Linked DNA regions of Homo sapiens: region 2 is linked to region 1. The links are contacts of gene promoters, found by promoter capture Hi-C in blood cells and fetal thymus (Javierre and others, 2016). All regions are on one chromosome and are shown on one strand. Each heading gives the region's core, a stretch centred on a gene start or on the middle of the fragment in contact. The rest is flanking DNA. Distances are from core to core; before and after follow the strand shown.

Evidence for each region. The method cuts DNA at HindIII sites, captures the fragments that hold promoters and counts their contacts. A CHiCAGO score of 5 or more calls a contact.
Region 2: a fragment that was not itself captured here is called in contact with the fragment with the promoter of LONP2 in region 1 in 1 of 17 cell types (total B cells); the score reaches 5.1 in total B cells.

The regions. Positions count from the first base shown.
Region 1 is chr16:48,242,242-48,246,988 of GRCh38, reverse strand. It overlaps LONP2 (lon peptidase 2, peroxisomal), which reads right to left and starts at 2,689. Exons shown (of 15, transcript NM_031490.5): 1 at 2,368-2,689. The coding sequence starts at 2,600. All of the region lies in intron 1 of ABCC11 (ATP binding cassette subfamily C member 11), which reads left to right. RefSeq lists an enhancer at 2,664-2,753. The HindIII fragment of the contact is 24,694 bases long and covers 1-4,747 here.
Region 2 is chr16:47,157,806-47,162,552 of GRCh38, reverse strand. It overlaps ITFG1 (integrin alpha FG-GAP repeat containing 1), which reads left to right. Exons shown (of 18, transcript NM_030790.5): 15 at 1-13; 16 at 721-803; 17 at 3,563-3,680. It overlaps ITFG1-AS1 (ITFG1 antisense RNA 1), which reads right to left. Exons shown (of 4, transcript NR_110904.1): 3 at 963-1,004; 4 at 1-2. Among named protein-coding and RNA genes, the nearest start is that of ITFG1-AS1, 16 kb to the right of the region's middle. The HindIII fragment of the contact is 5,243 bases long and covers 179-4,747 here.

The DNA.
Region 1 (4,747 bases), core at 1,440-3,939:
TAATATGAACATCAAGGATCAGATCACACAGTACCTGATTATTAGTGATTACTTTCAAGCAGGAGAATTGAGGATTGTTGCTTTGGAGGGATTTTCATAAAATAAATTAAAAACCTGAAGGGTATGGTGGCGCTTGCCTATAGTCCCAGCTACTCCAGAGGCCAAAGCAGGGGATAGCTTGAGTCCAGGAGTTTGAGACCAGCCTAAGCAACATAGTGAGACCCCATTTCTACAAAAAATTTAAAAATTAGCTGGGTGTAGTGGTGCACGCCTATAGTCCCAGCCACTCCAGAAGCTGAGGCAGGACGATCACTTGAGCCCAGGAGTTCAATCAAGGTTGCGGTGGGCTACGATCACGCCACTGCACTTCAGCGGAGGAGACAGAATGAGACTCTGTCTCAAAAAATACACAAATGAATAAATAATAAAAACCTTCCAAAATCTTGCCAGAATAATACCAACAAATAGTGAAACTTAAAATGTGACTAAATCGACTTTTCAAGTTCACAATGTGCCCATGGCTAATCAATACATATGCACAGTAGAAAGAAAATGAAGTCTAATAATGACCACTCTTGCCTAGACAGGGAACTAAGTGTGCCTGGGCACAGAAGGCAAAATAATTTGGGAAAAGTAAGCAGAAGGAGCAGAGTCGTATGTTGGGAAACTAGAATCCAATACAATTTATCAAAGAGTACTGAAACTTGGAATGTGACCAATTCCACTCAGGCAATAACCAAAGCAGGTCAGATGGGAGCCAAAATATTTTCCATGCTTGAGAAAATCAAGGCTTTTACAATATAAATGAATACTGGGCTGCTGTGGAAGGTTTGTTGGTCTTTGTTGCTTTGTTTTGCTTTCTTTTAACGGGGGTGGGGGGAGGTACCAGTCTCCTTTGAGAATCTGAAGAAAGCAAAGGATTCTCCTAAAAAAATGTACATAGTCACAAGATTTTGAGGAAAAATAAGACATGTCCAACCCTCCGGAAATCCATTCAGAGTCAGGAACCCCTAATTTAAAAATAAGGGATAACTGCCAGGAAAGGAGAAGCTCTAAACTGAAAACACAACACCTCCAGTAGAGTTAGGAATAGGAGGCGGGTGCTTGGCAGGTGAGTTTGAAGATACTTGTTGAGAGCATACGATATACCAGCATTGTCCAATAAAAATATAATGTGGACCACATATAAAATTTTAGTGGCCACATTATAAAGTAAAAACAGCAGAAATCTTAACATTTTATTAACCCCAAGTACTCAAAATATTACCTTTCCAACATTTAATCCATATAAAATGTATTAATCAAAAAGTTTTTTCAAAATCTGGCGTGTATTGTACACTTACAGCACATTTAGGGTGACCAACCTCCTGGTTTCCCTGGGACGGAGGGGCTAAAACATAGGACTTTCAATGCTAAAACAGACAATCGCAGCAAACCAGGACAACTGGCAATTCTATCATCTCAATTTGACGAGCCACATGCACTACACAGTACTGGACAGCAAAGTCATCCATCATGCATGGTGCAAAGTGGAATATACACATTATTCAATTTATTCTTCATAACTTGCCTAAGAGATGGATGCTGTCAGTTTCCAAATTGCAGAATAAAAGAAATAGAGGTTAAAGCTCTCACCCAAAGTCACACCAATAGGGCGAGGGTACTGGGCAATATAGTAGTAAGCCTGGGGCCTAAGAAATGTTATGAGTGAAGGAGCAGAGGTGAGAAGCTAGGAAAGTTCCAGAAAGGGGGACCAGCGAAAATGTGAGCAGTAAAGGCCCTTTACAAAGGGAAACAGAAGGATTAGGGGGAGAAGGAGAAGGGTGGCAGGGAGTATAGAAGAAAGGCACCCACAAATAGTGCAGTTTAGGAATGAAACAGGAAAAGTTAAAACTCACGGAGCAGAGAATGCCTCAGCGGACAAAAATGATGGGTGACAGAAAAGGGGAGGCGGATAGGAGTAAAGGGCAGTGGGGAGAAAGGTGAAAAGCGAAGGCAAGTGAAGGCAGAGATCACCGGGGAGAAAGAAAGGGCCTGGAAAGTTAAAAGCACTGGCCTAGGAGGCTGAAGACCGAGGGCGAGGAATTGCGGAGAGGGGGAAGAGGATTCAAATTAAATTATCCAGAACGGTAGGGAACTGCGTAGTTTCACCAGGTGTCAGGCACTACTTCATGAACGATCTCATTCATGGTCATGGGGCAGGTATCTGACATCCCCATTTTGCAAGTGATAGCACCAGAGAGGCGGAACCGAGCCGCGAAGGCCGCCCCGAACTGAGCCTCGCGCTCAAGGCAGGCCGTGGCCTGGGCCCAGGTCCCCGGAGGAGGCCGCGCCGCCCGCCGCCGCCGCGGGGGCAGCCAGGCCTACCTGTGCAGCGGCGGCAGGTCCTGCGCGTCGCTGGCGGGGTCAGGCGTGTTGGGGATGACGCCCAGGATGGTGCTTTGCAGCGACGTGCCCTTCAGAAGGCGGCTCCGCACCAGCTGCAGGTTGCGGGCCGAGTCCACGCTGGTGCGCATGGTGGAGCCGGGCAGCAGGACGCCCTCGTGGGTGAGCAGCAGCGGGAGGCGACTGGGGATCTGGATGGGGCTCACTGATGACATGCTGGCAGCCTTTCGCACTGGGGGCTGTCAAAAAGAGCCAGACAGACAGCTGCCCCCGGCCTGCCCCGCAGTCACCAAACCTCAGACCCGCCTCCACGCCTCCGCTTCCGGCTACGCGCTACGGTCCGTCCCCGGGCCCAAAAGCCATGGCTTCGCGCTGCTCTCTAGGAGAGCCTCCCGGTAAGACTTGAGCGTCCTACCTATGCGGAAAGACGTGCACTCAAGCGTGCAGCGACCTTCGCCTCACTTACAGAGTATATTTGGAAGGATGATCTTATTTGAATTGTATATACTTGAAGTGTTTTTAACGTTTTCTTCGATTTTTTACATATACTTGAAGTGTTTTTAACTTTTGATTCGAACTAATTATTTATTTATTTATTTATTTATTTATTCTGAGACAGATTCTCGCTCTGTCGCGGAGGCTGGAGTGCAATGGCGCGATACCCACGGCTTGCAGCCTCTGCCTCCCGGGTTCAAGCGATTCTCCTGCCTCAGCCTCCCGAGTAGCTGGGATTACAGATGCCCGCCACCACACCCAGCTAATTGTTGTATTTTTAGTAGGGAGGGGATTTCACCATGTTGGCCAGGCTGGTCTTTAACTCCTGACCTCAAGCGATCCGTCCACCTCGGCCTCCCAAAGTGCTGGGATTACAGGCGTGAGCCAACGTGCCCGGCCCGAATTGATTTTAGATGTACAAAACTACAGCAGAGTTCCTATATACCTTTCACCCAGTTTCGTCTGTTATCATCTTACATAATCATAGTTCAATGATCAAAACCAGGAAATTAACATTATTATCGTTTAACCTATAGGCCTTACCCAAATTTTGCCAGTTTTCCCACTAATGTCCTTCATTGGATCTGGTCCAGGATCCAATATCCAGGATCCTGTTGTGAAATCTCCTAGGTGTTTTGTTATGAAATCTCCTAGGTGTTCTCTAATCTGTGGCAAGTCCTCAATTTTTTTTTTTTTTTTTTTTTTTTGAGACGGAGTCTCGCTCTGTCACCCAGGCTGGAGTGTAGTGGCGAGATCTCGGCTCACTGCAAGCTCCGCCTCCCGGGTTCATGCCATTCTCCTGCTTCAGCCTCCCGAGTAGCTGGGGACTACAGGCACCCGCAACCACGCCCGGCTAATTTTTTGTATTTTTAGTAGAGACGGGGTTTCGCCATGTTAGCCAGGATGGTCTCAATCTCCTGACCTCGTGATCTGCCCGCCTTGGCCTCCCAAAAGTGCTGGGATTACAGGCCTGAGCCACTGCGCCCGTCCAATTTTTTTTTTTTTTACAACCTTGATACTTTTATTTTTTTTCTGTTTTTAATTTAATTTTATTTTTTATTATAGTTTAAGTTCTAGGGTACATGTGCACAACGTACAGGTTTGTTACATATGTATACATGTGCCATGTTGGTTTGCTGCACTCACTAACTCGTCATTTACATTAGGTATATCTCCTAATGGTATCCCTTCCCCCCCACTCCCCACCACCCAACGACAGGCCCCTGAGTGTGATGTTCCCCACCCTGTGTCCAAGTGTTCTCATTGTTCAGTTGCCACCTATGAGTGAGAACTTGCAGTGTTTTGTTTTCGGTCTTTGCGATAGTTTGCTCAGAATGATGGTTTCCAGCATCATCCATGTCCCTACAAAGGACATGAACTCATCCTTTTTTATGGCTGCATAGTATTCCATGGTGTATATGTGCCACATTTTCTTAATCCAGTCTATCATTGATGGACATTTGGGTTGGTTCCAAGTCTTTGCTATTGCGAATAGTGCCGCAGTAAGCATACGTGTGTGTGTGTCTTTATAGCAGCATGATTTATAATCCTTTGGGTATATACCCAGCAATGGGATGGCTGGGTCAAATGGTATTTCTAGTTCCAGATCCTTGAGGAATTGCCACACTGTCTTCCACAATGGTTGAACTAGTTTACAGTCCCACCAACAGTGTAAAAGTGTTCCTATTTCTCCACATCCTCTCCAGCACCTGTTGTTTCCTGACTTTTTAATGATTGCCATTCTAACTGGTGTGAGATGGTATCTCATTGTGGTTTTGATTTGCATTTCTCTGATGGCCACTGATGATGAGCATTTTTTCATGTGTCTGTTGGCTGCATAAATGTCTTCTTTTGAGAAGTGTCTGTT
Region 2 (4,747 bases), core at 1,551-4,050, 1.1 Mb after region 1:
ATCTGGAGAAAAAGTGAGTAAAAATTCATTTTGTTTACAATTAATCTATGTTTTAATATTCACTATTTAAGTATTTAAATTAAATAATTTGAACCTAATTGAATTTGAATTCAAATAAACCAAATATTTTTATTCCCTTTAAAGAATAAAGAAAAATTTATTGGTAGTGACCTAAGCTTATCTTACTTAGAGCACATCATGATTTTAAGATACCGTGTAGTTTTTCCCTCTCCTCTCCCATAAACGTCACCTATCCCTCTATCCTGCTTTTTCATCCTAACATTTTTCACCACCTAACGTGTACATAAATATTTTAGTAACATAAATAATATTATTATACATATGTGTATTATTTATATAATATGTAAAATCATATTATTTTACTTGCTTTGTTTATTGTCAGTCTCAATTTGAATTTTAGCTCCAAGCAGCATTTGTACATAGCCCTTTGAACAGTGCCTGCTACGTAAGTGTCTAATAAATATTTGTTGAATGAATGAATTCATAAAACACAAATATAATCTTTCCCAAAAAGATGAGAAAATTTTCCAACAGATGGCACAAAAGCCTTATTTTTGGCTTAATATTGGTAAACATAGCTTAATCCATACCTAGAATTTGAATTTCTCAAAGTAGCTAGATTTTTCATTATTTATTTAGAATAATAATTGTGTTTTTTAAATGTGCTGAATGTTAAATGTTCTTAAATTCTTCTTCCAGTCTATACGAAAACAAGAGTGGACTGCAATCATTCCAAATTCCCAGCTAATTGTCATTCCATACCCTCACAATGTCCCTCGAAGGTAATGTACTTGCTTGAACCGATTTGGTAAAGACACTGCTAACTCTGAATTATACATACAGTGATGTCTTTTAAGCTCTCTCATATTCCTGCTGTGTTCCCATGAGTGCCCATCCCTTAATTTGCTTACGGCAAACTTTAAATGACTAAACATACTTACATAAAAGGTCCCAGACATTTTTCATGAAGAACAAATTCAATCCTATTAGAAAAACAGGAGGTTAACTAATTAGGGATTTATATGTATTCTGCTTAAATAAACTGCTCTTCAGTTTACTAGTTATAAATTCAAACTTTCAGGATACTAAATCTTTGTATAAAGCACTAATCTTTTAAATAAATTATTTGAGAAGTAGTATATATCCCACAGTGGTTGGGCACAAATTTTGGAGTTAAATAGATGTAGGCTAAAATGATTCAGCTCCATTGCTGGCTGACTGCAAGAGTAGGAGCCAGTCCTTTGTCCTCTCCAAGACTCACTTTCTGCATCTGAGGGTGAAATATACTTAACACAGTGCCAAGCATGTGGTAAGCGAATGGTAGGTATTTTTATCCTTATTAACAGAATACATTCATTTCATAATACAGCATTTAACTTTAAATCCTTAAATTTTATTCATTTTTATTTAAATTCCTAGATTGATTCTATTCCTTTTAAATTAGGCGATAAAAGTATTCACTAACATTTAAATTTCATAGGGAAAAATATGCTAGACAAATATCAATATGAGAAAATAACCAAAGAGAAATGGTGAATTTATCTATGAATATGTAACCAGTGGGGTCCCCTGCTTGTTACATTCCCTCTGAAAATACCAGCTTCATCATTCTTTATTAAACATCTCGATCGAATGTATTGATTGCCAAAACCAGCTTATGCCACTTCATGACCTGACTCTGTGCATCTCTATTCAGTGAAGTCACACTGAAATCAGTTATGGTAGGAGAATCTACTCCATGAAAATTGGCAAGTACCATAAACAAGGCTTCCCGAACCCCTCTCTACCTCAGAGCCAGTTTACCAGCATACCAGCAGATGCATTTTATGGTAAATTAATGGGCTTCAGAACCAAACTGCTTAAGAAAATAAACTTTATCACAGCCTTATGCTTGGAATAAGATGACATCATTGAAACAGTTATAGTCCTGGTTCAGATTTTTTTTAATGAGCCTGTATTGTATGTTTGTGTTAGTTTTCTATAGATGAAATTTACAGTAAAACTAGAAAATCTGGACCATGAGTAGGAAACTATATAAAGTACGGTACTTCTATACAGCTCAGTAGCATGATTTTTTTTCACTGCCACGGACATAGAACAGTCTCTTAAGATGGAGTGGTAAGCAAAAAACAATAACAACAACAACAAACAAAAGAAGCAACAGCAAAATGTAGAAGAGTATGTATAATAAGCAGCCATTGTGATTTAAAAAGAAGCCATCTATACATACATGTTCATACATGTATAAAATATCTCTGAAAGGATATGCAGGAAACTGGTAAGAGTGACTGCCTCTGAGGAGAAAACTGAGGATTGACTTTTGTCTTTTTTTTTTTTTTTTTTTACCAAAACACTTACATTCCTGATTTGTTAAAAATCTATTTTAAAAGTAGAACTACCAAAAACATCTCATAAAAGAACTGTTTTCTTAAGTATGAGTATAACACTAAGAGTAGCTTTCAACTAATTAACAGTATTTGTTTTCTTAAGGTTTACTTACTCTTCTGAATTTCCAGAAAATTATACCATAGCTTTTTTCCGTAATCTCAACATTTTTCATGTTTCTCTTACTCTTTCCAAAGAAATGTTCTTTTCAAATTTATGTACATAATAAAAACCAAATTGATTTTAGTTTTTGAGGTGTATTTTGAGGTTATTGACTAGAAGCTAACTTATGGATCAATAAATTTTAATTATCCCAGAATAAATCAATAGCTACTTGCTATTTACCAGAACAGTCTTACCTTTATTAAACTTTTAAAATAAAAATATAGCCATTACCTATTTCTAGGAAGAACAAAAAGTTATGTGTATATAACAACCTTCACACTTGGTGATACAGTCCTTAGTTTTAGGCTTTCAGGGTGTGCAAATGCTATATTACATGGACTGTTTTAGAAGGAAAGAACTAGTTCTGTTTACTAAAGACCTCTAGTCTGTATATTGCCATTAACAGTGAGGGACTAAAGATGATTTTGTAAGTGATCTGAACCTAAAAGTCATTGTAGTAATGTAAACACTCCAACATGATATAAAAATTATAGAAGTTTTGCACAAGCCATCAACATTTATGTTTTACTTGGTCACATTATATATGTGACACAGGTCAAAAATAAGATGATACAGAAGGCTTCTAGGATCATGTGACTACCTTGCTTTAGAGTTCAGGTTTTCAAATTAAGCAGGTAAATCAAGATGTAAAAAAGATGTCTATGATTATCCAAAGTACCCTTGGATATGTTTACCTAAAAATAATTCTCATAGGATCAAACTTGGAAAATGAAAAATATTGAAATATCTCATCAAAAATTCTATTTCAGTTGTCTAGGTAAAATATAAACTGCAGAATCATCAATATTCTCAGCACTATCTGATTTTTAATTGTTTTTGTTTTATTTATAATGAATGGACTGATGAATGAATGGTTTAATGAATACATTGACTGTTTAATTAATAAGCTATTTTGCTTTGGGGTCTCAATATAACTTTGTTATTTTTAAATAAAATTTGTAATTTTAATTTGTTCTGTTTTTATCTACAGTTGGAGTGCCAAACTGTATCTTACACCAAGTAATATTGTTCTGCTTACTGCTATAGCTCTCATCGGTGTCTGTGTTTTCATCTTGGCAATAATTGGCATTTTACATTGGCAGGAAAAGGTTTGTTCATTTAAAGGAAGCATTAATTTTGGTTAATTTATTCTAGTAATACATACATTGCTCTTTAAAAACACTATATTTATTTTAAACTTTTTTCATATGACTAGAATTTCATCATTTTTCAAGTTCTGTTCAAAGCATCATTTTATTGATGATAATTTCTTTTATCCCTGGAAGTTACTAATGTCTCCTATCAATTCATACAAATCACAAGAGATGTCTACTTTAAAAGTTTGATGCAGTACGGTAGTAATAAAGTGATCAACCGGAAATCAAAAGGCATTTAGAAACAATTTCATAATGACCTGAAAAATAATAATGATTTTAAAAAATGAACGTGTGTTCAGTATGTACTGATAAAGCCATGGACATTCTTTGGCTAGGATTATCAGCTATCTCTTTGAAAAGAATTAGAGTGAAAAGAGGTTAAATTATTTTCTTGAGGTTTAGGTGGAAGGTAACAACTGAAGCAATAAACAGCCAGGCATGGTGGCTCATGCCTGTAATCCCAGCACTTTGGGAGGCCAAGGTGGACAGATTGCTGGAGCTCAGGAGTTTGAGACCATCCTGGGCAACATGATGAAACCCCGTCTCTACAGAATACACAAAAATTAGCCAGGCACCATGATGCAAGCCTGTAATCTCAGCTACTCAGGAGGCTGAGGTCGGAGAATCACCTGAGCCCAGAAAGTTGAGGGTACAGTGAGCTGCGATTGTACCACTTCACTCCAGCCTGGGCAAAAGGAGTGAGACCCTGTCTCAAAAAAAGAAAAAAGCCATAAACATCTTTTTCATCTATCAAGTATTCTTTGCATTAAACTGATTTCTGTTCTTTAGTATAATACTCTAAATAATAATTGAAAACAAAACTCCCAAATATGTAAAAGATTTTTATGCAAAGAAAAAAGAGGCTATCACTGTAAATTAGCAGTTTAGATATATGTGAAAAAGCTAGTTTCTATTTATATATGGGTTCCAATCAATGCCCTCAAAAAAGGGCTGCTTTGTGGCCCCAAAGAAAGGTGTTTTTCTTTTTTTGCACCTACACTCTGGATTGACATGCCATC